Regions from separate parts of the Homo sapiens genome. Here all the other regions are linked to region 2. Evidence: promoter capture Hi-C in 16 types of primary human blood cells and fetal thymus (Javierre and others, 2016). All regions are on one chromosome and are shown on one strand. Each heading gives the region's core, a stretch centred on a gene start or on the middle of the fragment in contact. The rest is flanking DNA. Distances are from core to core; before and after follow the strand shown. Region 1 overlaps ZNF32-AS3 (ZNF32 antisense RNA 3). Region 2 holds the start of ZNF22 (zinc finger protein 22). Region 3 overlaps ZNF485 (zinc finger protein 485). Region 4 holds the start of ZNF32-AS3 (ZNF32 antisense RNA 3). Region 5 has its middle 33 kb from the start of ZNF32. Region 6 overlaps LOC105378275 (a long non-coding RNA gene).

What was found. Contacts are between HindIII fragments. The CHiCAGO score rates a contact against its expected background, and 5 or more counts as called.
Region 1: a contact is called between a fragment that was not itself captured here and the fragment with the promoter of ZNF22 in region 2, in 8 of 17 cell types (total B cells, total CD4 T cells, non-activated CD4 T cells and 5 more). The highest score is 13.4, in total B cells.
Region 3: a fragment that was not itself captured here is called in contact with the fragment with the promoter of ZNF22 in region 2 in 1 of 17 cell types (activated CD4 T cells); the score reaches 6.9 in activated CD4 T cells.
Region 4: a contact is called between a fragment that was not itself captured here and the fragment with the promoter of ZNF22 in region 2, in 2 of 17 cell types (total B cells and activated CD4 T cells). The highest score is 5.2, in total B cells.
Region 5: a fragment that was not itself captured here is called in contact with the fragment with the promoter of ZNF22 in region 2 in 6 of 17 cell types (total B cells, naive B cells, total CD4 T cells and 3 more); the score reaches 9.1 in total B cells.
Region 6: a contact is called between a fragment that was not itself captured here and the fragment with the promoter of ZNF22 in region 2, in 1 of 17 cell types (total CD8 T cells). The highest score is 5.4, in total CD8 T cells.

The regions. Positions count from the first base shown.
Region 1 is chr10:43,658,572-43,663,538 of GRCh38, reverse strand. All of the region lies in intron 1 of ZNF32-AS3 (ZNF32 antisense RNA 3), which reads right to left. Among named protein-coding and RNA genes, the nearest start is that of ZNF32, 12 kb to the right of the region's middle. The HindIII fragment of the contact is 3,787 bases long and covers 898-4,684 here.
Region 2 is chr10:44,999,044-45,003,803 of GRCh38, reverse strand. It overlaps ZNF22 (zinc finger protein 22), which reads right to left and starts at 2,881. Exons shown (of 2, transcript NM_006963.5): 1 at 2,826-2,881; 2 at 1-524. The coding sequence starts at 435. It overlaps LOC124902530, which reads right to left. Exons shown (of 3, transcript XM_047426129.1): 3 at 1,421-3,024. The coding sequence ends at 2,395. It overlaps ZNF22-AS1 (ZNF22 antisense RNA 1), which reads left to right and starts at 3,001. Exons shown (of 4, transcript NR_126421.2): 1 at 3,001-3,274; 2 at 3,388-3,518; 3 at 4,382-4,487. RefSeq lists an enhancer at 2,265-2,765 and a silencer at 2,492-2,841. The HindIII fragment of the contact is 6,687 bases long and covers 731-4,760 here.
Region 3 is chr10:43,607,502-43,612,343 of GRCh38, reverse strand. ZNF485 (zinc finger protein 485) reads right to left here. Exons shown (of 5, transcript NM_145312.4): 3 at 3,604-3,730; 4 at 2,994-3,089. Among named protein-coding and RNA genes, the nearest start is that of ZNF485, 3.5 kb to the right of the region's middle. The HindIII fragment of the contact is 1,859 bases long and covers 2,321-4,179 here.
Region 4 is chr10:43,624,020-43,629,215 of GRCh38, reverse strand. ZNF32-AS3 (ZNF32 antisense RNA 3) reads right to left here and starts at 399. Exons shown (of 5, transcript NR_038867.1): 1 at 238-399. The HindIII fragment of the contact is 294 bases long and covers 2,426-2,719 here.
Region 5 is chr10:43,679,105-43,683,907 of GRCh38, reverse strand. No RefSeq gene overlaps it. Among named protein-coding and RNA genes, the nearest start is that of ZNF32, 33 kb to the right of the region's middle. The HindIII fragment of the contact is 529 bases long and covers 2,815-3,343 here.
Region 6 is chr10:43,808,168-43,812,877 of GRCh38, reverse strand. The region is part of intron 2 of LOC105378275 (a long non-coding RNA gene); the gene reads right to left. Among named protein-coding and RNA genes, the nearest start is that of LINC02658, 32 kb to the right of the region's middle. The HindIII fragment of the contact is 1,837 bases long and covers 2,507-4,343 here.

The sequences.
Region 1 (4,967 bases), core at 1,542-4,041, 1.3 Mb after region 2:
AGCACTGTGGCATTAGGTCCCTGTCCTCATGGCCTCATTTAACCTTAATTACCTGTTCAAAGTCCTCATCCCAAAATACAGTCACATTGGGGATTAGAGCTTCAACATGTGGATTTTGAGGGGACACAATTCAGTCCATACCACAATTTTTCTGGCCAATTGTAGGATGGTGCTTCTTGGCACACTTAGGGATGAATTAGATTGTGTAATTAGTTCTGGACAACAATTTGTGAGCTGCTATGATTTGAATATTTGACCCCTGAAAACCTCATGATGAAATTTGATCCCCAGTGTTGAAGGTAAGAGCCTAATAGAAGGTGTTTGGGTCATAAGGGTGGACCCCTCATAAATAGATTAGTGTCCAGGGGTGGGGCTGAGTAAGTTCCTGCAAAGAGCCTGGCATTTCCCCCTTGCTTCCTCTCTCAACATGTGATCTCTACACACAGAGATCCCCTTCACCTTCTGCCATGAGGGGAAGCAGCCTGAGGCTCTCACCTAATGTTGGTGCCATGCTTCTGGTACAGCCTGCAGAACTGTGAGCCAAATAAACCTCTTTTCTTCAGCTGGGTGCAATAGCTCACACCTGTAATCCCAGCACTCTGGGAGGCTGAGACAGGAGGATCACTTGAACCCAGAAGTTTGAGGTTATAGTAAGCTATAATTGCTTCACTGTATTCCAGGCTGGGTGACACAGCAGAACCCTGTCATTCATAAATAAATCAATAAACAAACAAACAAATAAATAAATAAATAATTTTTTAAACTCTTTTTCTTATAAATTACCTAGCCTCAGGTATTCCTGTATAGCAACACTAAAAAGACTAAGATATGAGCAAATGTGATTTATGTCACTACTGGGCTGTGCACTTAATTGCCAGTATAAGATGTTCCAAAGCTTTCTTATCTCTCTGCCATAGTAACTGGCACTGTAAAGATACTGGCTGCTTTGTCAGCTTGGGTTGCTGAATGTCTACAATGAGTAGAATTCCCTGCAATAGGATAGCATGAGAATGGAATAGAGAAGAAATACACCTTTTTGACTTGTCACTAGGATTTTACTGTTTTTGCTGCAGTATAATCTAATCTACTTTCACTGATACAACTTCTTTGGTGGTAATTTTTAGTGGAGATGTAATTTAGACACACAAAAAAATGCAAAACATTCATTTCAATATGCTTTGGTAATTATATTACTCCTGTGCAATCACTGTAAACAAGAGATGGTGCATGTCCATTACCCCAAGTGTTTCAAGTTCTTTCCAACTAGTCCTCCCACCTTCTTCCATCCCAGAGAAACTATGCTCTGGTGTTCTGATTTCTGTCATCATAGATTAATTTTTCTCTTCCTGAGCTTCATATAAATGGGATCATATTGTCTGTATTTGTGTCTTGCTTTCGTTCAATCCACATAATGTTTTTTTGAGATCAATGTATATTGTGCGAGTCAGGTGAGCATCCTTTTGTTGTTTGCTGACTACTATTCCATAGTATTAATGTGCCACAGTTTGTATATCCATTCTACTATTGATGGACATTTGGTTGTTTTCCCTTTTGGGTTATTCGAATAAGGCTACATTCTTGTGCAAGTCTTTTTGTAGACGTGTTTTATTCCTGTTGGCAAATACCTAGGAGTGAAATTTCTGAACCATAGGGTAGATGTATCTTGAAACTTATAAGAAATTAACAAAAGGTCTCTAAAGTTCTCCAGCCATTTTATACTCCTTTCAGCAATATTTGAGAGTTCAGTGCTATATATTCTTGCCTATATTTGGTTGCGTTGTCTTTTATAATTTTAGCTAGCCCAGACTGCTGTTAGCATTCAGTCCAGAAGCCCTCGGGAGAGAGGGCCTTTGCTTTCTTTCCCAAAAAAGTCTTCCTTAACAAATGGTGCTCAAGCACTGATTATTCACATGGAAAAAATGAACTTTGACCTCTACGTCACTACATACACAAAAATTAAAATGGGTTATAGACCTAAAAATAAAAGCTAGAACCATAAAGCATCTAGAGGATAACACAGGAGATTCTTAAAAAAAAAAAAATTAGAGTAGGCAAAGGGTTCTTAGGACACAGAAACATTAAATCATTAAAAAATGATAAATTTGACTTCATAAAAGTATTTCTCCCAAAATACTTGAGTTATAATTAATTATATTTGAGCACCACCATGCCAGGCTAATTTTCATATTTTTAGTAGAGACGGGGTTCCACCATGTTGGCCAGGCTGGTCTTGAACTCCTGACCTCAAGAGATCTGCTCACCTCACCCTCCCAAAGTTCTGGGATTACAGGTATGAGCCACTGCGCCTGGCTGATTTTCTTTGTATTTTCTAATGCTTTGATCCTTTTTATGTCATAATGATTTACCATATTTTGTAAACATTTTAGACACCAGAAAGTCCCCAGGCAGGACCTGATGGCTCACGCCTGTAATCCCAACACTTTGGAAGGCTGCAGTGGGAGGATCTCTTGAGCCCAGGAGTTTGAGATCAGCCTGAGCAACATAGTGAGATCCTGTCTCTACAAAAAAATTTACAAATTAGATGGTGTGGTGGTATGTGCCTATAGTCCCAGCTACTCAGGAAGCTGAGGTGGGAGGGTGGCTTGAGCCCAGGAAGTTGAGGCTGCAGTGAGCTATGATCTCCACTGCACCCCAGCCTGGGCAACAGAGTGAGACCCTGTCTCAAAGAAAGGCTCCAAAGTCAGAATCTATCGATGAATTCTGTTTTGTATTTTTGTAATTTCTACTTACCTTTGCCAGCTTGACTTTAATAATGGTGAGTCAAATTGTCTAACATATTTTGTCAAATTGCTCCTAACTCTACATCTTATGTCTTTATGTCAAAAAGTAACAAAATTCATAAAGTTTCAAAGACATTATCCTTAATATTGATAATAATTTTTGTTAAATGCTGTTTATACATATTTTGCCAATTGCAGTTGACTAAACCATGCCCTTTTAATATTAATATTGGTGTCAGTGCCTGTGATCCTATTTGGCAAAGGCTTTCTGGTTATTCTGCTGCTGCCCAATGCATATCCCGTCATGAAAGCCTGGTGAGTTGGAAGGAACAAGGTACTTGAGTCAGACCTGGGTAGAATCCCACATCGACTGCTCACTGGTTGTGAGATCTTGGATATGTGTGGTAACCTCTCCAAACCATGGAGGGAAGAACAATGCCTACTACAAAGGATGAAATTATAGATTCTATGCAGCAATGGCTACATACACACATCTGTGACCAAGAGCGACAGACGTGGACTGTTTCCAAGCCCATTTTTTAAATTATATTTATATTTGAGCATAGTGGTGCTCAAATATAAATATAATACCAAACCATCACTATGGTTTGGTATTTTTGAGACAGGTTCTCACTCTGTTGCCCAGGCGAAGTGCAGTGGCACGATCTTGGCTCACTGTAGCTCCGCCTCCCAGGTTCAAGCAATTCTCGTGCCTCAGCCTCCTGAGTAGCTGGGATTACAGGAATGCACCACCACGCCCAGCTAAGTTTTGTATTTTTAGTAGAGACGGGGTTTCACCATGTTGACCAGGCTAGTCTAGATCTCCTGACCTCAAGTGATCCACCCACATCAGCCTCCCGAAGTGCTGGGATTACAGGCGTGAGCCACCGCGCCCGGCCGCAAGCCGGTCTTTAGGGGATTTTGTGTATTCGTTATGGTTTGGAATTTATTGGGTGCCTAATATACACAATACTTGTATATTTTAGACAAGTCAACATTTAGAAGCCCATCCAGAAATCCAGAAAAAGTTCACACAGATGGTGCGGAGTGATGGAGAGAGAAGAAGGAGGTGGCAGATCTACTAAATGATTAACAGGAAAGCTGGAAGGACCCGTGTAGGGAAATCGTGGGAGGTGAGGGAGCCCCCGCCCCATTGGCAGTGCCTACCATGGACACCTGCAGAGCAGGCCCAGCTTTTCATCTTCCTTATCTATTTACTGTCTTGGGATAAGGGAGCCACATTCTTGTTTGCTTCCATCTTTTACTAAGGTCAGCCAAGAAATCAGCCCAGTTTTGATCCTAGAGTTATTATCCTAAAACAGTATCAGTCTCATTTAAAATATATCTAGGCTGGGCTCAGGGGCTCATGCCTGTAATCCAAGCACTTTGGGAGGCCAAGGTGGGCAGATCACCTGAGGTCAGGAGTTGGAGACCAGCCTGGCCAACATGGTGAAATCCCATCTCCACTTTAAAAAACAAAAATACAAAAATTAGCTGGGCGTGGTGGTGGGTGCCTGTAATCCCAGCTACTTAGGAGGCTGAGGCAGGAGAAACATTTGAACCCAGGAGGCAGAGGTTACAGTGAGCCAAGATTGCGCTATTGCACTCCAGCCTGGGTGACAGAGCAAGACTCCATCTAAAAATAATAATAAATAAATATACTGGTAATGAACACACAAAACTTGGTTTGCCCTTTATGGAAGTGTAAGTCTTTAATGATTTTTGGTTTCCCTCCGTCCACTTTCCCACCTGTTTCTATTCTTTATTATTTAGCTCATGATCTTAAACGCTGGTTTAAAATGATACTATCTTCTCTTCCATTACTTACGTGTGTGTGTGTGCATTATGTGTTTTGTATCCATTTCCTTGGCCCTTCCTGTTGGAGTTTAGTGATTTTCCTGAATTCCCCATTACTTCAAGTAGCTTCGGGGCCACCACAAGCTTTCGACACCCCCCATGAGCCTGGGGGTGCTGTTGAGTCACCTGGTGCACATGGCATCTTCTGCTGGCCTCCCCAAAAAGGAGACTCTGAGACAGGCTTGGGGCTAGTCGTTTGGGAAGCACTGTCAGCCACTGAGCAATGAGCCAGAACCAGAAGCTGTGCCACACACAGGTGCAAGAATGAGTGGGGTACCACTGTGGCAAATTGGGTACAATCCCACTGAGGCACTGTAAGAGAACATGAAACACGGCAGGACTGACTCACGGAAAAGGGGGTGAGCTGGG
Region 2 (4,760 bases), core at 1,632-4,131:
GCCACACTCATCACACTGATAGGGTTTTTCTCCAGTATGAATTCTCTGGTGCTGAATGAGATTTGAGCTCTGTTTGAAGCTTTCTCCACACTCATCACATTTGTAGGGCTTTTCCCCCGTATGGATCCGTCGATGCTGAATGAGATTAGAACTCTGAAAGAAACTTTTCCCACAATCAGCACATTTATGGGATTTCTTTCCAGTATGGATCTTCTGGTGTTGAAAAAGAGTTGAACTCTGACTGAAACTCTTTTCACATTCAGTACATTTATAGGGTTTGTCATCCAAGCTTCTTCTGAGTCTACTGAAGCTTGAGTCAAATCGAATAGTCATGCCCCACTTCTGCCGCTGCCGGCCTGTTTTGCGCTTGTTCTCATAGGCCTTTCCTTGGCTTGAGCTCCGAGAAATACCCGCTTTAGGCTTTGCTAACCTCATGGTGAATAACCAAATGTATTTGTAAGAGAGTTTACAGGCTTCTTCTGAACTAGTGTTTCATTTCCTAGAGGTGTACAGCTCAGAATTTTCTGTGTGTAGAAGGAAAAAAAATTTAGAGATGATCAGAAAAAAAATTACAGATATCTGTTAACTATTCAATTTTAATATCTCTTCAACCCACCAAAATTGCATTCATGTTTAAATTTAAAAAGTATAAATGCAAACAAAGATAATATGGGGGGAAATTTGGGGGAAATACTTGCAAAGTAATTCTAACAATTCCAGAGTTTAAGCTTAACAAATATCACCAAATTTTGACTGAGTTTACCACTGGAGTTTCTGTCTATTGGGACAAGACAAATTAAAAGTGATCAGGTGAAATATAAATCTTCCAAGCATTACCAAATGAGTACATAATTTTGAAGAACTAAAAAGTGGAGATAAGGTAAATCTTAATGGGAATGGAGTAACTCCAAAAGACAATCAAAATTTGTGTAACAGAACATTACTATGCTTTAATATTTAGTTCCATGTTAAACTTCTACTAACTAGTAACTGCCTAAGGTATCCAAATGAATAAGAAATGACAAATTACACTACTTTATGATATATTCCTGTTTATCTGTATTTAGCATTCGATTTCCATAGCTCTAGATGACAGTTTAGCTCTAATTCTGTAGCATAAAGTGTTTTGAAAATTGAAACTTCTCTACAGGGAGTGGTAGGTTTACTTAGTCTATGAAGACACGCTTTATTATTGGTTTTTATAGATCCTAATGATCCAAGAAAGCAATTTGTTGAAAACCCAAAACGAAAGTACTGTTTTCGGAGACAGAAAAACTGCAAAAGAACTTTTACCAGAAAGTGGAATGAAACTGAGTAGAAAACGCATGGTAGGTAGGACACAAGAAAAGGAGAGGGGGGAGAAAATGAGTTTACATGTAAAACTAGGATGGAATTTTTAGAATACCCAAATGCTGCAAAATTCAAAATTTCAAATGATTTTATTTATTTATAAGGCTGACTTGTGGCTATTTAAAATAACGGCCAAAACAAACCAACAAAAACCCCTACAAACCCCACATAGGTGGCAATGTCGGAAAATCTAGAACTTCAAAAGCAATAAAATTATTGGAACTATTTTTCATTATCTTGTGTCAGAATGTGGAATTTAAAATAGAAACAATTATTCTGGGTTTCTTTGCATACAAACATATAAAGCAAATAAATGAAAACAAAAACATAATTTTTCTTGCCTTCCTTTCATCTTATTGTATAATTGAGACTTTAGGTCCAGGACTTTATCTGGATATTTAATAATTACATCAGCTGTAATTATGGTCAGCGTAAGAGTAAGCCGCATATAACACAAGATTACAGTTAGGACTACCCACTCCTTAACTTAAGCAAATATTTACAGAACATCTACCACACAGGAGACATTGTGTTAGGTACATGGTGTTGGTGTTGCTTTTTTTTTTTTTTAATAACTATAATGGTCATTATACATAAAAGCACACGCATTTAATACAATGGAAGTCAGATCTAGTCAGAAACTCAGACTGTCAAATCCACCTACGGATGAGGCAATCATACTAGTATGTGCCAGACACTGTGTAACTTGATTCTGTGCTAGCTCTTTAATTCTCCTGGCACCTTTATGCAGTTATTTCCGTTTTAAGTTAAGGAAACGAGGGCACAATGCTAGAAGGCACTGGCCGGGTTCCCAGACCCTAGCAGTTTGACTCCAGAGCCTGTACTCTTAGTGGCAGCCACATCTTCCATTGCTCAGTCCAGCGCGGCGACCCGTGCTTTGCATAGCTCCCCAGCAGGGGCAAGCACGAAGTTAAACCTGAGTGACAGAAGCTGCTGTTCTTGCACACCCAGCTAACTGGAATGTGCCTCAGTTTCCTCGTAAAATGGGGAGGGTAATGATAAAGTGGCAACACCATCAAGATGTTAGAAGTTGCAATGAGTCTGAATCTGAAAACCGCTCAGAGCAGCCCTGTGCTGCCTAAGCATTTGTTCCACGTATCTAGTCCTCGAACGCTCCGAGCGACGGAAGGGGCCGGGGCTGCTGCTCACCCGCCCAGTTCCACCCGCCGCGGGCCGCGCCTCGCCCGGGCCCCCAGTCCAAGCCTCCCGTTCCCAGCACTCCGCCGGCCGCTCCTCATTGACCCGGCCCGCCCGCCGCGCAGGCCGCGGCCCCACCCTGGGCCCGCGTGGCCCTCCCGCCCCCGCCCGGCGGCCAGGCCCTGCCCGGAGGCGGGAGACGCAAGCCACGCCATCGCCCGGGCCCGCGCCGCCCTCGTTGCGGCCAGCGCGCTCCCGAGCGGACCCGAGTATCCGACGCAGGCCCCGAGCGCCCCAAGTGCCCCAATCCCACTCACCGCGCGGGACCAGCCACCACTCTGGCTCGCTGGGCGCCTCCCGCGCCGCCGGAAGTGAGGGCCTCGCCGCGCTCTGGCGCCGCCGCGGTCGCTCTAGGAAAGTGGCGGAGCGACCCTCTATGGTCCCGGGCCCACCCGAAAGCGTTGTTCGTTTCTTCCTGTGGTTTTGTTTTCTCCTCCCCCCAACTCGGAAGGCGTCCTGTGACCCCCGGGACCTCAAGAGCTGTAACCGCCCCTGTGTGTGGTCGAGGCTTTTGAAACCAAACTCTAGCCTCTCCAACCTAGAAACTGCATACTTTCCACAAATTTTGAGATTTTTGAGACCCTGGTACTTTTCACGAAGTCACCTTAATTATCACCAAAAAGCTCCTGCAAGATGGGAGTGGTTATACTCCATTTACAGGAAAGGAACCAAGGCTCAGAGAAGAAATGTGCTCCGTTCACCGTGTGTAAGCGGACGACCCAGAATTGGAATGGTTCTTTGTGGCTCCAAAGTCTGATTTCAACACACCCCTTTTGTTGCTCATTAGTAATGATCTCTCTTTGTTCTTATTCCTTCCAGGCTCCTCCTCAGCCATCCTGGCCGTGCTCAGTCATCTGACCAGCTGACCTCCGTGTTCCCCCACTCCCTGGGGAGCTCCTCCGCCTTTTGGCTTCCAATGCTATTGCTGCATGCTGAAGACTCCCGCATTGGTAACTCCAGTCTGACTGTGGGACATAAATGTTATTGAACTTTAGACTTGTATATCGAACTGATTACTCAAGAGCTGCATTTGCATGTGTAATGGACATCCCAAACCTAACATACCCCCCAAATGAATTCCTGATATCTACCTAACCTGTTCTTGCAACAGTCTTCTTCCCAGGGATGGGTGAAGATCCCATCATCTTTCCAGTTGCTCAAGCCAAAAACCTTGATGTCACTGTTGTCTCTTCTTTTTTTCATCCAAAATTCACCTGTGATTTATCCACAAATTCTGTCGGCTTCATCGTTAAAATATATTCATTATCAAGCCACTTTCAACACTTCCACTGCTATAACCACCAAGCCACCTTCATCCACCTTCTGGATTATTATATTGGCTTCCAGACGGGTTGCCCTACAGTCTATTCACGGCCCCAGAGTAATCCTCTTAAACCTAAGTTAGATCATGTCATTCATTTGTTCAAAACCTTCAAAGGCTTCCCAACTTATTAGAGCAAAGCCAAGGACCTCGCAGTGGCACCCGATGCCTCTCATGATCTGTCTCTTTAGTTCTTTATTGTGTCTGCAGTGCTGAAAACAGTGCTCAGCAGGGAACAGACACTCAGTAAATAGCTGTTGAATGAATGAATTTATAAGATGCCTTATTGTTTACAAAGTACTTTTACATCTTATCTTCTGGTTATTCATCTTCACCATAGTCTCATGAAGCACAGATTATCATATCTGTCTTGCAAATCAGTAAACTGAAGCAAGAGAGGCTGACCTGCCTGAAGTAATACAGTGGTTTGTTGGTGGAGGCTAAACTAAGTCATAGGTTCATTCTCTTAAGTTGGGGCTTTCTGCTCTGTAGGGAGCTGTCTCTGCATATGGCAAAGCACAAAGCTGAATGAGGTCTGGACAAAGAAGCTCCACTCGCAATCTAGAGAGTATCTGGACTATTGCAGTGATTAAATGAGGTAATGTAAGGCACTTAGCACAATGTATAACACAGAAGAAATGAGAGTCGTTGTTACTTTTATTATTAAATTGTTATAAGTTGGTTGATGCTGGTGGTTGGAGAGTTTGGGGTAAAGGGCAATGGCCAGAGATCTAGAAATGGTTTAGGAAAAGCGTCAGGAGCAAACATGACCCGTTGGGACTGTCTGCTCTATGTACACTAAAATAAAAAGATAATTTTTAAAAAGCCATTTTGTTAGTAAGGTAGTTACTAATTAAAACTAACTCCTTTA
Region 3 (4,842 bases), core at 2,001-4,500, 1.4 Mb after region 2:
AATGAAAATGGGCAGATGAAAAAGAAAACGTAAATACATTTAAGTATCAGTGCAAAAATTTAAATAAAAGATTGGCAGACAGAATCATCCACTGTCATATTCAGAGAATGATATAATGTGTCATGGCCAAGATAAATGAGAATAAAATCTACCACAGAAACAGATCAAAATGGAAAAGACAGATATTTCCATATACCTTGAAAAGGCATTTAATAAAATTCAGCAATCATGCTTGATTTAAAAAACTAAAATTTCTTAACAAAACATGTGAATGAAATACTTCCTTTAAATAACAATGTATGTGTATCCCAACTCAACAGCCAGCTCAAATGAGAAGGCCAGACACAATGCAAAGATGCAAAGACAAGCATATCCATCATTACCTTTGTTAATATAAAGCTGATATAAAACAAACTTTTAAAAAAAATCTGTGATATATATGATATACAATTAATTTCCTGAATGTATAAAGAACCCTTCACACTGACAATAAAAAGACCAACAATCTCACAGTAAAACGGGCAAAGGACTGAACAGGCAGTTCTCAGGAAAGATAAATACAAGGGTTGCTCAAAATGTTGAAACATGCTAAATCACACTCCTGATAAGAGAAAGGCAAATTAAAATTATAATAAAATATTTTCACCTCTCAGATTTGCAAGGATCAAAGCATATAAGACACTGCTGACAAGCTATAAAAGTGGCACTCATATGTTGTCATTAGGAGTATAAACATGTATTATCTTTATGAATAGCGGAAATACCCACCAAATTTGGTGGATTTAAAAATTTTAACCTTTAACAATTCTTATAGGAATTTATTCTATAGATTTACTTGTACACAAGAGAATTGATGTGTATGAGGATAATCACTGCAACATTGTTCAGAGTCATTATGTCCACTAAAGATAACTGATTACATAAATTATAGGACATCCATAAAGTGGAACACTATGCAGGCATCAAAAAGAAAGATAAGCTGGCATGGTGATGCACGCCTGTAATCCCAGTACTTTAGGAAACTGAGGCAAGAGGATTGCTTGAGGCCACGAGTTCCAGACCAGCCTGGGCAAAATAGCGAGATCTCATCTCTACAAAAAAAAATTTAAAAATAAATAAATAAAATTAAAAATAAAAAAATTTAGCCAGGTGTGGTAGCATGCTCCTGTGGTCCCAGCTACTCAGGAGGCTGAGGCAGGAGGATCACTTGAGCCAGGAGGTCAAGGTTGCAGTGAGCCATGATCACACCACTGTACTTCAGCCTAGGAAACAGTGAGACTCTGTCTCCAAAAGAAAGAAAGAAAGAGAGAGAGGAGAGAGAGAGAGAAGCTCTAAACAATATAGTTATGTCAAATGACTTCTAAGACATAAATGCCAAAGTAACAGGCAAAAGAGTGTGCTACCATGTGCTTAAAGAATTCATGGATACTCTCACAAAGTATACATCACACCTACAAATCTCCACAAGAAACTGACACAGGGATGCCTCTGGGGAGGGGAACTGAGTGATGAGAAAGGTATGTGAAGGAGACTGCATACCATTTGAACCATCTGAATGTGGTACCATAAGCATGTCTAACAACTAACAGAAAGGGAAATATACACACACAAAAAAAAACATAAAATACTGACTGGTTGTGAAGTCTTTGTAGAAAGATTTACTAGTCCTCTAAGCAGATGAAAGAAATATTAGGGGAAACATTGCTTGTTTTCATTACATCCAAGTTTTAAACATTCTATTTCAAATAACAACCAAAATTAAAACAGAAAGAACAAAGAATAAAGAAGACTGAGTGACTTTTGTTACTATATAAAGAATCTACACAAGAATTTAGGGGGGAAATGTTAAACACAGTAAGAATAAAAGGAATTACTTCAAAAGCATCCCACCCACAACCAGCAAAGACCTAGGTTAAGCAAGACTATGTATTACTGGTATTTTACATGAAATACAGTTATAAACATTCTCCTGAAGAGGATAGAGGCAAAATGACAATTAGAGTTTTAGAAGAAAAAATACTGGCAGGATAAATATTTTAGGTGAGAGAAATATTCAGGCTTAGAGATTCAGAAATGAACTATGGCACAGAGAAAGTGACATACAAAAACATATACAAAGTATACACAGAAAAAAATGAGAGCCAAGAGCAAAGGACAGTAGAAAAGACAAATAAAAGAAGATCCCTAAGAAAAGGAAAGAAAATGCTTCCCCAACAATGTGTTTGCCAAAAATCGCAATTACCTGAGAGCTAAAAAACCATGCTTATGTTTGGAATCTGCAACTACCACCAGGAAGTGGTATATAGTGAGTTAGCAAGCTTCCATGAGAGAGTGGGTAAGGAATGGAAAATGAACATGGGCCAGACGTGGTGGCTCACACCTGTAATCCCAGCACTTTGAGAGGCCAAGGTGGAAGGACCACTTGAGGCCAGGAGTTCGAGACCAGCCGTGACTAATATAGCGACACTCCATCTCTACATAAAATAAAAATTTAAAAATTAGCCAAGCATTGTGGTGGACGCCTGTAGTCCCAGCTACTCCTACTCAGGGGCCTGAGGCAGGAGGACGGCTTGAGTCCAGACTTTGAGGTTGCAGTGAGCTACAATTACACTCCAGCCTGGGCGACAGGGCGAGACTGTCTCAAAAAATATAAAAAAAAGAAAGAAAGAAAATGGAACAGAAGTAGAAAGAAACAAAAGATACCTGGTGAATGCCTGGAAAGAGAGAGAGAAAAATCACATAAAGAGCTTGAGGATTTCAGAAGGCTGGGAGATGGCACAGATGGGCCTGAGGCCCTCAGGAAGGCAGCAGCCCTCCCAAGTGCAGAAAGACTGGGGAGAAAAGCGGCCAGCCACTTGACAGGAGGATGACATCAAAAGAGGAAACCAGTGCCTTTCTGCACCAACAGGGCACTCAAAGATGAGCTTCCACTCAGGAACCCCCGTACTGCTCCGTGTGCTCAGCTTCTGCTGGGATGTTCCCCACCCACTCACCTGCATGTGTGCCTGATGGAGCCTCTCGCACCTCAGTCCAGGGCTCTGCCCCTTGCTCCAACTGAGTAATTAGTTTTGGTTTGGAAGAGAGAAGCCCTGTTCATAAAGAAAAAGGATCTTAGAGGAAGAAAAAAAAAATGAATGAAAAGGAATGTGATGGCGGTTACAAGCACAAGCAGTCACTCCAGACCTCAGTGTCAACTTGAGCATCTGCAATGAGCATGGACAGGTCAGAGAGGCCTAGAGGGTGGCACCCAGGATGTCCAACTCATGAAGTAAAGCAAAGGGAGGGGGCAAAGTCAACTAGAAAACCAGGTCCTCCTGGAGGACGAGAAACTCCTATTTTGGGAGGCAGATGAATCATGACACAGAAACATTCCAGAACTGGGCTAGTTGGCACCACAAAGCTACCCATCTTAACTCTGTATGGCTCTGACCTTTCTTGAGGGGTGTAAGGGGCATAAACTCCAGCCTCTAAGCCCATACTTAAGAAAAACAAAACAAAAAGCACATCATTTAAGATTTTTTCAATACCCCAAACCATTCACCCTGTGAAAACACAAAGTTGCCCAGCAGACCAATCCTGAGTCAAGGAGAAAGCCATCCTCACCCACAGACACCAGATTCCCATAGTTCTCCAGCATCACATCCCTGTACAGGGCCCGCTGAGCAGCATCCAGGTGTCTCCACTCAATCCGGGTAAAGGCCACAGCCACATCCCCAAATGTCAGCGGTCCCTGCAAAACCAAACCCAATTCTGCTCATCCGGGAACCCCTGAGGGAGGCATCCCAAGAGAAGGAAGCAAGGTGGTCAAAGCCAGCTTCTGACAGTTCCAACAGTGCTCATGGAAACCAACAAGTAAAAGCTGAGGGCTCAGGGGATGTGCGACTCCTCCCTTGAGCAGGTTCTTCCTGCATGCCTGTCCTGCTCCCTCCTCCAGGCCTAGCCTCTGCTCACTCCACCCTTCATGTCACCTCATCAAAAAGGTCTTCTATTTCTCCACCCCATCCTCTGCCACTCAGTCTCGAAACCCATTTCACTTTTCTTCACAGGATTTCTCACCACCTGGCAGGAGAGGTTTGCACTGACTGTCAGCATCCTCTCTAATGTGAGCTCCAGGGGGACAGTGTGGGTCACTGCTGCCTCCCAGTCAAAAACACTGCCTGACACAGAAGTGTTCAAGCTTTATTCAATCAACAAATGAATAGAAACTTTGAAAAGACATGGAAAGTGATTAGCTTTATCCGAGAATTTACAGGGAGTATGATCTGACTCTGGGGCAGAATATTTTTAAAAAAGAAAAAAAAATTGCTTTTCATAAGAGTAACAACTTACTATGTACCAGCCACGGTGCTAAACCCTGAGATACATATCATCTCTCTAAATTTCTGCCGTAACTATATAAAGTAAAATCTATTTCGTAGCTAAAGACACAAAGGTTCAGAGAGTTGGAAGAACTTGCTCAAGGTCCCAGGGCTGGTTGAAGGCACAGTATAAAAGGAAGCCACAAAAAGTGGTAATGAAACTAGAACAAATTGGAATGGCTATGAAATACTAAAAGAAAAAATGAGTAAGCCTTAAAAAAATGAAAAGTGTGTTTCAAATGAAATTACTTGACTTAGAGCAGTAGAAATGTAGGTGATCTTTAATTTTTTTAATTTTATTTGTATAATAGACACTCAAATGTTTATCACTTCCTTTCAAAATACCAATTATTTAATCAGCTTCTCAAAATCCTTCAAAACCTAGTTTTCTCCAGGATAAAAGCAAACTCCAGTCTGGGATTCTAGACCATGAATGTTTCCAACTTTCTCAGACCAGTTTGTTCATGGTCCCGCCATAATGACT
Region 4 (5,196 bases), core at 1,323-3,822, 1.4 Mb after region 2:
CCTACCAGACTCTCTAGGCAGACCCAAAACTCCCTTCAGGGCAATAAAAGAGCAGGAAGAAAATTCCAAGCAGCAGGTGGCCTGGATTACCCTACTCCTTACACAGGGGGTTGAGACAGTGCATGTCTGTCCTCCTTTTCCACGCCAAGTTCCTCATTGCTAGGGCTTCCATTCAAGAATCAATGCCACAGAAAACTAGAAAAGTCAACAAGGATGAATAAATACATGATTTCTTACCTAATTTTGATGTCAAGTCACAGGAAGGAGTACAGACAAGTCAACCATGCCAAAAAGGCCCCACACATGCAAACTCAAAGGAACATCTTCATCTTCCCTTTTATCATGGGCACAGGTCTCTCCCAAAGTCCCTTCCACACCATCCACCAAGTCCAGTTCACCAGATCACCTGTAGCCCTGCCCTGATTTTGTTTACTTTACTTGCATTTGGGGTCATTATGATGTCGTTGCCATAGGGTCAGGGACTTAGTGACAACAGAATGTACAATCCAGCCATGACCAAGACTTGTGTTTCTGCAGTGCTGAATCTCACCTTACTCTTAGAGAGCCTCATTCCTTTGATTAAAGAATGCAAATCACTCTACAATTCTGCTTGTTTTCTAATTTCTATCTCTTCCCAGTAATTCTGGCCAGCCTGCCTAGTTTTTCTTGATTTTACTGATTATACTCCTTTTATGTTTTCAGGCCACTAACCTCCCTAGCTTTGCCATAGTCCGAGATGGCGACTGTAATCAATACATCTCATTCAACACAAGCTACAGATGTGATGGAAAAACTTGTTTTACTATTACCGTAACCTTTCAGGAAGTTTCTTGGGGTTTTGCCTATACAAACATCTCATATAATCCTGACTATAGCCTGTTGTGACCCTGTCTCTGCTTGCTTCAAGGCAATACTCTCTCCCTCCCTCTTAACTCCAACGTTGAGTCTCTTGCCTTAAAGCCATTGTACACATTATTCCTCTTTGCAGCAATCATCTATCACCTGGGTCACCCCTTGAAGATTTTAGTTCCTGTATCATTATCACTCACTCCAGCTCTACTGTCATCACACTTGGAGTGCTTATAAATGACTCATCACTTTTCCTCCTTACTTCCAATGAACTTCCTCTCCAGAAGACCAGAGCCACTCACCTCCATCCATGATCATATTTGTAACTTCTGCATTATTAATCCAACAATGGTCTCAATTTTAATCATCTCATTTTCTGATTATCAACTCCTGTCTTTGCATCTCACTTCCTCTAGTGAACTAAAGCCAATAAATTGTCAGCTGCATCAATAATTCATGGATCCTGCTACTCTCCCACTACTCTTCAACCTTCCTTACCAGCTTACATTATATGGTCCCTCTTTGAATCAATCACCTGCTTGCAAACACCCTCAACTCCCATATCTTGCTATTATTTTTAAAAACAGTTTTATCAAGGCATAATTCACATACAATAACACTCACTTATTTTAGGTGTACAATTCAATTATTTTTAGAAAATGTGCAAAGCTGAACAACTAACATTGCAATCTATCATTAGAACATTTGCACTACACCATTAACAAACTTCATTTCCATTTGCAATCATCCCTCATTGCTACCCTCTGCTCCACGGGACCATAAATCTAATATCTGTTTCTATAGACTTGCCTTTTCTGGACATTTCATATAAAAGGAATTATACAATATATGGCTTATTTCATTTAGTATAATGTTTTTGAGGTCCATCCATATAGTAACATGTATCAGTACTTTATTCCTTTTATTGTTGAGTAATATTTCATTGTGTGAATATAGCAGATATTGTTTATCCAATCATAAGTTGATGGACATTTTGGTTGTTTCCAGTTTTTGGCTATTTTGAAAAATGACGGCTGGATGCGGTGGGTCACGCCTGTAATCCTAGCACTTTGGGAGGCCGAGGCAGGTCGATCACCTGAGGTCAGGAGTTCAAGACCAGTCTGGCCAAAATGATGAAACTCTGTCTCAAATAAAAATACAAAAATTAGCCAGGCATGATAGTGCATGTTTGTAATCCCAGCTACTCCGGAGGCTGAGGCAGGAGAATCGCTTGAACCTGGGGGCAGAGGTTACAGTGAGCCGAGATCGCGCCACTGCACTCCAGCCTGAGTGACACAGCAAGACTCCATCTCAAAAAAAAAAGAAAGAAAGAAAGAAAAATGATGCTATGAATATTTACATATAAGTTTTTATGTGGACATATATTTTAATTTTCTTGGGTATACCTCAGAGTAGAATCACTGGGTCATATGGTAAAACTGTATTTAGCATTTTAAGAAACTGGAAAACTGTTGTCAAAATGGCATTTTACATTTCCACCAACAATGTATGAAGGCTCCAGTTTCTTCACATTCTCCCCTGTATTTGTCCATCCTGTGTTGCTATAAAGCAAGCTTGTCCAACCTGCAGCCCAACACAAATGCATAAACTTTCTTAAAACATTATAAGAATTTTGCAATTTTTTTTTAGCTCATCAGCTATCATTAGCGTTAGTGTATTTTATGTGGGGCCCAAGACAATTCTTCCAATGTGGCCCAGGGAAGCCAAATGATTGGACACCCCTGCTAAAAAGTAATACACAAGTCTGGGTAATCTGTAAAGAAAGGAGGTTTATTTGGCTCACAATTCCGCAGGCTGTACAAGCATGGTACCAGCATCTGCTCAGCTTCTGGTGAGGCCTTAAGAAGCTTACAATCATGGCAGAAGGTGAGGGGGAGCCAGCACATCACATGGTGAGAAAGAGAGTGGGGTGGCAGTGGGGGAGGTCCCAGGCTCTTTTAAACAATTAGATCTCAAGGTAACTCATTACCACAGGGAGTGCACCAAGCCATTCATGAGGGATCCACTCCTATGACCCAAATACCTCCCACCAGGCCCCACCTCCAACACTGGAGACCACATTTCAACATGATAATTGGAAGGAACAAATATCCAAATTATACCATCCCTCAACACTTGTTAGTGGATTTTTATTACAGACAACACTCCCTGGGGCATAAAGCATCAGTGGCATCTCATTGTGTTTTAATTTACATTTCTCTAATATCTAACGATGTTTTCATGTGCTTATTGAACTTTCTTTTTTTTTTTTTTTTTTTTTTGAGACAGAGTCTCGCTCTGTCACCAGGCTGGAGTGCTATGGTGCGATCTCAGCTCACTGCAACCTCCACCTCCTGGGTTCAAGTGATTCTCCTGCCTCAGCCTCCCGAGTAGCTGGGACTACCACACCCAGCTAATTTTTGTATTTTTAGTAGAGATGGGGTTTCACCATGTTGGCCAGGCTGGTCTCGAACTCCTGACCTCGTGATCTGCCTGCCCCAGCCTCCCAAAGTGCTGGGATTACAGGCATGAGCCACCACGCCCGGCCTCTTTTTATTTATTTATTTATTTATTTATTTTAGATGGAATCTTGCTCTGTTGCCCAGGCTGGAGTACAATGGCGCCATCTCGGCTCACTGCAACCTCCACCTCCCAGGTTCAAGCAATTCTCCTGCCTCAGCCTCCCAAGGAACTGGAATTACAGGCGCATGCCTATTTCAAGTAAAACTATGATCAAATAAATGTGCATGCCTTTTCTATTAATCTGCCTTTTGTCAGTGATTTTCAGCAAACTTTCAGAGGGCAATGGGGAAGTTTTCCCTTCGCTTTTACATCCCAAACCAAATTTATAGTTATACCTCTTATATTTAGGTCAATTATCTTTCTTGATTTTTATGTATGATGTAAAATGACTAAACGTATATTTTTTTACATGAGGATATCCAATTATTCCAGCACCATTTGTTGAAAAACCTATCCTTTCTCCACATTGAATTGCCTTGGCACATCTGTCAAAAATCCATTGGTAATGGGCTCAGGTGATCCTCCCGTCTCAGCCTCCCAAGTAGCTGGGACTACAGAGATCACTTGAGCCCATTAAAAAAAAAATCCAATGATGGTGGGCCCGGTGGCTCACACCTGTAATCCCAGCACTTTGAGAGGTTGACGCAAGAGGATTGCTTGAGCCCAGGAGTTCAAGACTAGCCTGATCAACATAGGGAGACCCCATTTCTATAAAAATATTTTAAAATTAGCCAGTGTTGTGTTGCACATCTGTAGTTCCACCTACTCAGGAGGCTGAGGTGGGAGGATCGTTTGAGCCTGGGAGGTCGAGGCTGCAGTGAGCCATGATCTTACCACTGCATTCCAGCCTGGGCAATAGAGTGAGAGACCCTGTCTGAAAAAAAAAAATCCACTGACCAAAAACATAAGGGTTTATTTCTAGAATCTCTATTCTGTTTGATGGGTCTATATGTCTACTTTTATGCTATGACCACAGTGTCTTGATAAATGTAGTAGCTGTAACATTGTGAAATACATAATATATAAATCATTTCCTAGCATACAACTCCTAAAACCCTTAGAAACACCAAAGTGATGTCTTATTGTATGTTAATGCATTGACAGCCCCCCAGGTAGCTTCAGGATGGGGCTGTCACCATAAAGACCAAGGGAGGATTACAGGGTTGGGACTTTCAGGCCTACCTCCTCTGGAGAGGGTTGAGGGACTGAAGGTTATGTTGATCACCAATGGCCAGTGGTTTAAACAATCATGGCTATGTAATGAAGCCTCCATAATAACCTCAAGGACAGGGTTCAGAGAGCTTCTAGATAGCAAAACCTATGGAGGTTCTGGAGGGTGGCACACTCCAGGAGGGCATGAAAGCTCCATACCCCTTCCCACATGCCTCACCCTAGGCACCTCCTCATCACTTTCCTTTGTAATATCCTTAAGAATAAACCAGTAAATTTAAGTAGGTGTTTCCCTGAGTTCTGTGAGCTGTTCTAGCAAATTAATTGTGTGGTGACAGCAGTTATGTAAATGGAACCCAAAGAGGTGATTGTGGGGGCCCCAACTTGAAGCTGGTGGGTCAGAAGTTTTGGTGGCCAGGGCTTACCTCCAGAATGCCTCCAGATGCACCTAGCATCTGAGAGGTTGTAGGCAGTCTTATAGGCTTGAGCCCTCAACCTGTGGGGTCTGACACTATCTGTCAGGAAAAATCCCCACACATTTGGTCACAGAAGTCTTCTGTGTTGATTGCTGTCGTGGTGTGAGGGCAGATGGAAAAGTTTGTTTTTTCCCCCTTAGTAGTTGTATAGTACGCTCTGAAACTGGGATGAATTTTG
Region 5 (4,803 bases), core at 1,830-4,329, 1.3 Mb after region 2:
GAGATAACCAGGGAAAAAAAAGTCAAAGGAATTGTGTCCAGAAAGAGGAATTAACTTCATGTTAGGTCAAAGACATGACAGAACAAAACTCAACTGAAGAACTGTAAGTTATTTTAAAAAGCTGGATTCATACGGTGGATGGGTGGCGGAGGGAATCATGAGAAACGGGCTGGAGACTTGAGCAGAAGCAACACCACAGGGCAGAACTCTCGCTGAACTCTAGAGGGAGCCGCTGAGCTTCACATCGACCCCCTTCACTCCATCCCTGGGCTAGAGGGCTGGGGGTGCTCTGGTCTAAGTGATGAATCTCTGCAGCACTGAGCAAGGTGTGTTGTGTAATGGGAGAAATTTCAACGGTAATCAAAATTACAGGGCTGACAGGCAGGTCCTCTCCTTTCTCTGCACAAGGCTGGGAAGATGGAGCTGGAGGCAGCTGCTATGGGAGGCTCAAAGGATAAACCCAGTACTTGAAGTTTTAACACTTTCACATTTCCAGGGACTGTTCATCATCACAGATTTCTTCTCCCATTTTTTGCTTGCACCCTCTCTCTCTCTCTGAAATTTTAACATTTAAACAAGTTCAAATCTCTCCTATCGTCAAAGCAAAAAGCAAACAAAAAAATGCCTCAACTGCAATGTTCCTTCTAGCCACCATCCCCCTGTCTCCCACTTAACATCAAGCTTCTCAAGAGAACTGTCTGTATTCATTTTTGTTGACTCACATCTCACTGACTCTCCATGCAGTCCACACAGATTTCTGCCTTCATTAGCTCCCCAGGAGCATATTCCCTCGAGTCATCAATGCTCTCCATGTAACTGGTTTCAGTGGATGGTTGTCAGACTCCTTCTGATTTTCTCATACTTCTCCTGGTTTCCCTAACTCCACATTCTCTTAGTTGTCCTCCTCTATCTCTGGCTACTCCTTCTCAGTTTTCTTTGCCAGTCCACCTTTTTCTAACTGTCTGTATATGTACAGACGACTCAAGGGCCAGTCCTTAATAAGCTCCTCATCTTCAAACTCCATCTTCTCTTCCCAGGGGGTTCTCATTCATAACAACATTCATTACCATGGTTACCTGGCTAGATGCTCACCAACCTCTGTTCCTCTTGTGGGACACATAGACCAACTATAATTCCCAGTTTCTCTTACAGTTACGTTGGGGACACATGACTGGGTTCCAGCTCATGGGACAAGGACCAAAGTGGCATACAGCATAAAACATCCTGAACGAGCCCTTTTGTTCTGGAACCTGAGTTCAGTCACCATTTGGAAGATGGCCATTCAGAGGAACATTCTGACCCACAACAGACTTTGTGAGAGCAAGAAATCAACTTTTATATGTTCACTCACTGAGATTTTCCAGGGTTTGTTTCAAAAGCGAGCATTAATTACCCTAATACACGTCTACCATCTGCCGGTAGCTGACTCCCAAAGGTACATCTCTACCTAGATCTCATCTCTGAGCTCTGAATCTGAATATATGTGTCTCCTCAATATCTCCCATCATAAGTCCAAGGGCCTTTCTTCCAGAATATGCAAACCTGACCTCATGGCACTGCCAATTGCTTCTCTTCCTGGGTTCCTATCCCAGTGAATGGCACCTTATCCATCAGCTGCTGAAGCCAGAAACTCGGAAATCATCTTCCATGTCTTCTTTCCCTCACATTCCCCAATATGCACCATCAGACATCTAGTCTATCCCTAAACCTAGTGGATTTTTCTCTCCTAAGTTGTACTTTTTCACCATTACTTCCCTAGTACCAGCCACCATCAGCTCTTGCCTGAGCTGCTGTGAATCCTCTGTTGCACACCTTTAATCTGCACACCTCTAACCCTGCAGTCTAAATTTTCAAAGAACAAAACTAGCCACAGCCCTGGCTGACTATTGCTCCCAGAATAAAAAGTTGGCATCCTCAATGCAGCTGCAAGACCCCACCTGATTAAGTCCCTATGAGTTTCCCAAACCTCATTTTATGTCCCTCGGCCCTCAGGCTCAGCGCTCCAACCACTTGGCCCTTCGTCCAGTCCTTGAACCCACTGGGCTCCTTCCTTCCTCATAGCCCATGCTGCCAGGTGCCACGACCCTGCTCCACAGAGACAGAGAGTTCTTGTGCCCTCGCCTGCAGCCCAGGCTAGAGGCTCCACATGTATCACTACACCTAATCCTCGAAACAATCCTCTGAGGTATGTGTTTTTATGCACATCCTATAGATGGGAAATTTGAAGTTCTGGGGATTTAGGAAACTTTTCAAGGTTTACATATCCAGTAAGTGATAAAAGTAGAATTCAAATGTCAGCCTGCTTGGCTGCAGCGTCCGTGCTGTCACTCCCTGCACTGTGAGGGAGACACCTGCAATGGTTGAGAGGACCATGGTGGAGGACCAGGAAGGATGGGCTTCATTGAGGAAGAATCAAGGCCCCAAAACACCCATTCCTGGAAAACTACAGGCGACAGGACCTGCAGGGATGGAGGAGGAAGCCAAGCCAATAACAAGGCTGGCGCTCTGCCTGAAGCATCTGCTGTGCTCCTTCCTCTTCCCAGGGCCCCAAAGGGCTCCAGTGATTGTCCCCACAACTCATGAGGGAGTCCACGACTAACATACTTAACAGTATTTGATAGCTAGTGGATAATTTTCTTATCATCAAGGAAATTATCGAGATAATTCCACGTCCTCATCACTATCACACATTTATAAAGTGTCTTGCCAAGCACAGAGAGGAAATTGGTTTTTAAAAATAAAAATGCTTATTGAGCACCACTGGATCCAAAGTTTTAGGTTGTCAAGAGATGTGATCCTTATTCCTGTGAAGCTTAAGTACCCATTGGGGTGTGTTCTGGTTATCCACAATCATGGAACAGACAAATCCAAACTTAGTGGGTAAAAACAGCCACTGCTTCTTTATGTCTCATTTTTTTGTGGCTGGGGAAATTGGGCAAGGTTTGGCTGGGTGACTTCTCTGTCCCACATGGCACTGCAGAGATCACTTGGTGGTATTCAGCTGGCAAGCAGGCTCTTCTGGAGGGACCAAGCTGACCTCACTGACACATCTAGTGACTTGGAAGACATGGGGGATGGCTCAGCCAGGCCTATCCATCAGAGCTCTATACAACAGACTACTACCGAGCAGTAAAAAGACAAATTACCGATCCATGCAACAAGCTGGCTGAATCTCAAAGGCATTACACTGAGTAACAGAAGCCAGTCTCAGAAGTTACATACTCTATGATTCCATTTATATGACATTCTCAAAGCAGACAAAACTATAGTCATGGAGTGGGTACCAGGGGCTGGGGGTGAAGGAAGGGACAGTGTGACTATAAAGGAACAGCATCAGGAAGCTTTGGGGGAGATGGAACAATTCTGTGTCCTGATTGTGGTGGAACAGCCCATTCCCAAAAGGTCACACTTACTGCATGTTAATTTTAAAAATAAAATAACTTTGAGTCAAGTAACAACTTCTTCTGTACTGAATACATGAGCACAGAAGTAATTCTGAATAGAAGTCTGAGCAGTCTGTGCTAGGGACATGATGTGTTGAAGAAGTGCCTCAGTCCATTGTGTGCTGCTATAACAAAATACCCGAGACTGGGTAGTTTATAAAGGAGAGAAATTTCTCTCACAGTCTGGGGGCTAAGTGCAAATTAAGGCTCCAGCATCTGGTGACTCATTCTTGCTGAGTCATCCCATGGTGGAAGGTAAGAGGGCAGGAGAGGATGAGAGAGGGTAGGGGAAGGCAGAAAAGGCAGGGCAAACACCCTTTAGTAAGGAACCCACGCCTGTGATAACGAACCCACTCCCAAGATAATAGCGTCAATCCATTCATGAGGGCAGACCTTCCTAAAGGTCCTGCCTCTTCATATTGTTAAAATGGCAATTAAATTTCAGCATGCACTTTGGAGGGACATTCAAACCATAGGTGGAAGTGAGGAAGGAATCCCTACCATGAGCCTCACCCTTCATCCAGGGCTCACCCGGTTGACTCCATTCATCCCAGCAGAACTCTGGGGAGTGGAGCCATGGTGAGTCCTGTCATGTCCCAAACAGGCATGAGGAGAAAGGCACAGAAAGACTCCGAACCTAGGAGAAGTCCGGGCCAAGTCAGCATGCTCTGGTTTCCCCGCCTCCTGGTTACCAGAGCTCCTTGGGCCATGCCAAGTCAGCATGCTCTGGTTTCCCCGCCTCCTGGTTACCAGAGCTCCTTGGGCCATGCCAGCACTTGACAGCAGGCACCGGGACACCAGCCAAAACTCCTCAAAACCGCCTCCCTAAGTTGCACTTGTCAGCAATTAAAACATTTGTCAAAGAGTATTTAATCCTAGTGTTATAAAGTGCTATGGCAAACAGATTTGGCTCGATATTTTTAAAAGTTCTGCAAAATGGCTACTCCCAACTGTAATTCAATTATGTTACTATGGCTTTAAACAAAAACAGTAACTAAAAAGATCATATTTTGATGTACCAGGAAAAAGTCATTTGGAACCACAAAGTCATCAATACTTTTTTAAAAATAAAAATAAAAAATAAAAATAATAATTCCAACTATAGAAAGGATCCTTAAAGCCAAGCCCCAGAAACCTCATTAGTCAAAGGACAAATACAACACACAGGATAGCAGAGGTCACGGCACTTACACCAAACTGTGGAAGAGACTGCGTTTTCTTGGGAGACCTTCAACTCCTTTTACCTCCCTTTCTGTTCACCACATTTGGCAGGGTTTATCCCCTTGAATTAGGAGTAGTGTGAAAACCAGTGGTTATTGTAAATCCAGAGGTTGTCGTAAATCCAGATCATAGACAGATA
Region 6 (4,710 bases), core at 2,176-4,675, 1.2 Mb after region 2:
AAGATCGTTATCCATGGTGCCTCATTTTACAGGCCCTAGAGGATACCTACATGTGATGGTAAATACTAAGTGTCAATTTGATTGGATTGAAGGATACAAAGTATTGATCTTAGGTGTGTCTATGAGGATGTTGCCAAAGGAGATTAACATTTGAGTCAGTGGGCTGGGAAAGGCAGACACACCCATAATCTGGGTGGGCACAATCTAATCAGCTGCCAGCGAGGCTAGAATATAAGCAAGCAGAAAAAAATGTGAAAACGAGAGACTGGCCTAGCCTCCTAGCCTACATCTTTCTCCCGTGCTGGATGCTTCCTGCCCTCAAATACCAGATTCCAATTTCTTCAGTTTTGGAACTGGGACTGGTTCTCCTTGCTCCTCAGCCTGCAGATGGCCTACTGTGGGACCTTGCGATCGTGTGAGTTAATACTTAATAAACTCCCCTTTCCTTTGGCAACACCCTGGCAGGCACACCCAGGATCAATACTTTGTATCCTTCAATCCAATCAAGTTGACACTCAGCTTTAATCATCACATGTAGGTATCCTCTAGGGCCCATAAAATGAGGCACCAATGCTTATTACAGCATTGTTCAGAGAAACTAAACAAGCAGAATTTTATATTTATTCCATTAGTTCTGTCCCTCTAGAGAACCCTAACTAATACACTACGCTTATCCAAAGTTTTCCATATTAGCATGGCAAGAAAGGTCACGAGTATCTTACAAAGGATTAATTTTTTTCTTGTTTGTTGGAAAATTATTTCATTGTTTTTTCAGATGACTAGCAACCCAAATATACAGAATTCTTGGATCACAATCTTTTTCTCTCACTCCCTTTTGTCTTTCCTTCCCAAATATTGTTGGGATAATTTGGAGCAAGAATGATCTTTTTCCCCTTATAAATGATTTTCTTCTTTCTGGTGCTGACAGGATTTATATTCATTTTTGAAGTATAGTCGCTTCCATGGAACATGTCTTGGTGAATGGTTACTTTCTTTTTCCTAAGACATGATAAGCACTCTTATCTAATAATTCAGATCTTTTGTCATTTCCGGAAAGTTTTTTTAAACTATTTTAAAAATCCTTTCTAACTATAATTTTTTTGTTCCAAAGTGCTCTTTTCTCTATTTGAAGTGCATCAGTGGTGCACTGGAACACATTTGCCTGTTGCTTGTACTTACCATAGTATTCAAATCCCCCTCTAACCTTTGCATACTGTATAATTTCTAAAATCTCATCCATATGACAGTTCCATTTTTGACAACATCAATTCTAATAAACTCAGTAGTCCTGTGGTGCTATATTTGTTCCTCTCCATGTATCAATTCTCCTTGCCTCTCATTTTTTGATCTCTAAGTTGCAGAGCTTGTGGTTGTATTTCTTTAAAAGTATGAGTATTTGTTGTTCGAAAATATCTTATTTAGGTAAGATATTTAGGTACCTTACTTAAGCAAGCGTTCTTCCAAAAGAATTTTCTCTATATCCTGCAAGCTGCTTTTTAAACAATGTTTAGGAGAGGAAATACAGAGTGCTTTCTTTTTGTTTTTGTTTTGCTTTTCTCTTCTGCTGACTTTTCTTTAACCATTCATTTAAGGCCTGTTATCTGCCCCTAGACACTTTAAATGAATTATCCTCAGCTTTCCTGACTGTTTATTTGAAGTGTCTGGAATTCCACTTTAATGTTTCTGTTGGCTTTTTAGCAATACTTCATCGCATTACATTTGGAGTGATTGTTCTAGAAATTACAATACATTTCCTTAACTTTTACCGCCTACTTAGAGCTAGTATTGTACCACCCAACTTAAAATATAGAAATCTTATGACCATAGAGGTTTGGAATAACATTTGAATGCTACTCTTAACTCAGAAACTTGAGTGCCTGAAGTTTATGGTTTGTATTTTTATTCCATTTTCCAGTAGTCTGATGAAGATAAGAAAAGAACTTCCTTGTCTTGAACATACCTCCTAAATTCAAAAAGGAAACAAACCATTGCCTTTTGCCTCTTGTGCTTCCTCCCCATTTGTGAGCACATACATGCAAGCATGTTCATACACACACACACACACACACACACACAACCATACACTTGTACAAATGTAGGCTCTCATGCTGCATATTTATGTTTTTAAAAACTGTTGATCATTTGGAAATCATTAAGATTTTAACTCCTTCACCAGTTCATTGCTGTATGAGGAGTGGAACACACACTGTGCTATAGCACGCTTTGGGCACACTTCTTGCCCTCCCCACGTTCATGCCCTATGTACCTTTGCAATACTCTCCCCTGGGGCAGGGAATAATTATAATCCTCTGATCATCCAACACAATGTGAAGATAATAAAAATTAATTTCAAAAACAAAATTGCACATTTGGAAAAGATGCAGGATTTCATGAGTTCACAAGAAATGTCAGGGCCTGTCTGATCACATCACACCTTCCACCTGTGACTGACTCAGACCAGTCACCAAAGAGTTAAGAAAGGCTCTTGACAACATTGTTGAAAGCTTCTAATGCTTTTGCAAAAATAACAGGCTTTTTAATTTGCTGGGAAGGGGTGCTCTTGTACCACTAGCCTTGAGCTGTGCCCATGATAATCTATAAGAAAATAAGTTATAGATCACAACAGATCAACACATATTTTTTTAAATGATCAATTTTATCACAGCTCAGTGGTAAGTTTATAGAACAAAAAAAAAAGAGTGTCACTTGATAATGAGAAGAAACCTTAAAAGAACAAATGTTAAAGGGCAAACAACCCCCTCCTCCACCACACAGACACACACACACGTATACAGACAATCCTTAAATTCAAAGGCAGTCACTTGCCTCTTTCCTCTAGGAAAATCTAACTTAATCCCTTCAATGATCCCAGGTCTTCAAAAACAAAACCCTGGATTAACACCCTGAATTTAAAATCTGGGTGTCTTGAATGTCTTTGAAAGTACAATCTCAAAAAGCAAAGAAAAAATTTTCAGGTGGGAGAGGAAAAAAAAATACCTACAACAGAGAGAAGAAAACACATAATATCCCAATAAAATATCTTGGCACCTGTATGCTTGGCTGTACATGCACCTGTGTTGTACATGCACACATGTCCATGGGTTACCCTGGCCCCAACTTACACGGGGAAGGTAACTGTATGACCTATCCACACATCTGGCTGCTTCTACCCCAGCTAACTGACAAATACTCCCAAATATTTTGCTATTGGTTGATTTGACAGCCACTCTGGAATAGTTGGTTGGCAAGAGGTTTTAAAGCAACAGAAAACCCAAGGTTGGATGGATTTGCCATCCCCTCCACTTAGGTAAAATGGCTTCCAGTAAGGGGTTGTGCCAGTATTGGCTGCTAGCTAATTTAAGGTCCAATGGAAAATGAAAATAAACAAGTATTAATCCTGAGAACCTTTTTGTGGAGTTATGAAAACAGTCTGTTATAAAACGCATCCAGATGTCAGCCAAGAGTGAGTCAATTGGAATAATAGCTTCAAGTGAAACCAGCAAAGGGCAGCAGGTCAGGCTGTGGGGATTCTGAGGAATGCCCACTCACAGACCCAGGAGCGCACCGCTGCACACCAGCCTGGAGCCTCGCCCACGACACAGAATTCTGTTAAACGATCTATAAAAAGAATTTATGGATCCCATGGACCAACATCGATTTTTTTAAATTAATTTTGTCACAGCTTAAGGGCAGGTTTATAGAAGACCAAGACAAAAAAAAAAGCGTCATTTGATAATGAGAAGAAACTTTAAAAGAGCAACATTTTATTTGACAATTATTAAATTTTTATACCAGTGAAAACAGTTTAATTTTATAAAGACCTATAAAACAATCTCCTGTTGATACACTAGCCCTGTTCTTCAAAAACACATGCCTGAGGATATTTACTGGAACATTTAATATTAAGACCTCTGAAGTAATCTACAAGTCAATCTGTGGAATATTGGTTAAACAAATGATGGTACACTTCTACAGTAGAACCAAATGCAAGTGTTTCTTAATTAATTAATTTTTTATTTATAATTGAAAAAATGCAAATGTTGAAAAGGGTGATAGACCTCCTTGACAACTGCTGTGAAATCATGTCTAGCATAAATTAAGTAGGAAAAAGCAAGTAACAGAGCATTAAACATCATTATTCAGCCATCTTTGCATAAATCAGTCTATCAATCTATGTTTCTCTGATTGTCTATGCAGGAAAAGTTCTAGAAAGAAGCCAATGTTCATGATGGCCACCTCTGAGGAGTGTAGGAGCTGAGGGCAGAGGAGCTTTTCCTTTTTGTGTTGTAGTTTTCTATACTGCTTTAATTTTTCACGTTAGCATGTATTGTTTTTGTAAAGCTTTTTAATTAATTGGTTTAAAAGAGAAGGGGAGGGAAAGGCAAAAGAGCAAGCGGCCTGTTGGAGTGGAAAGCTAACTAATGGGGCATTGGCAATCTGGTTCTTAAAAGGAAATGGGACTCCTATGAAAATACAGAAAACCTCTGAAAATGCAGGAAGTCCAACAGTCACCACAAGGGAAACAGTTTTACCCACTGTGTTTTCTCAAATGAGTGAGCAATTGCCTAAAAATACTACACTGTGTGGTTGCATGTGTTCAGTCCCCACTCAGGATCCTGATAGCATCTCAATTACCTGATGCCAACTTCACTTTAACATTGACTTTTTATTTTAAAAACAAATTGCTGATCTTTGTCCGTGGAAAAGCTG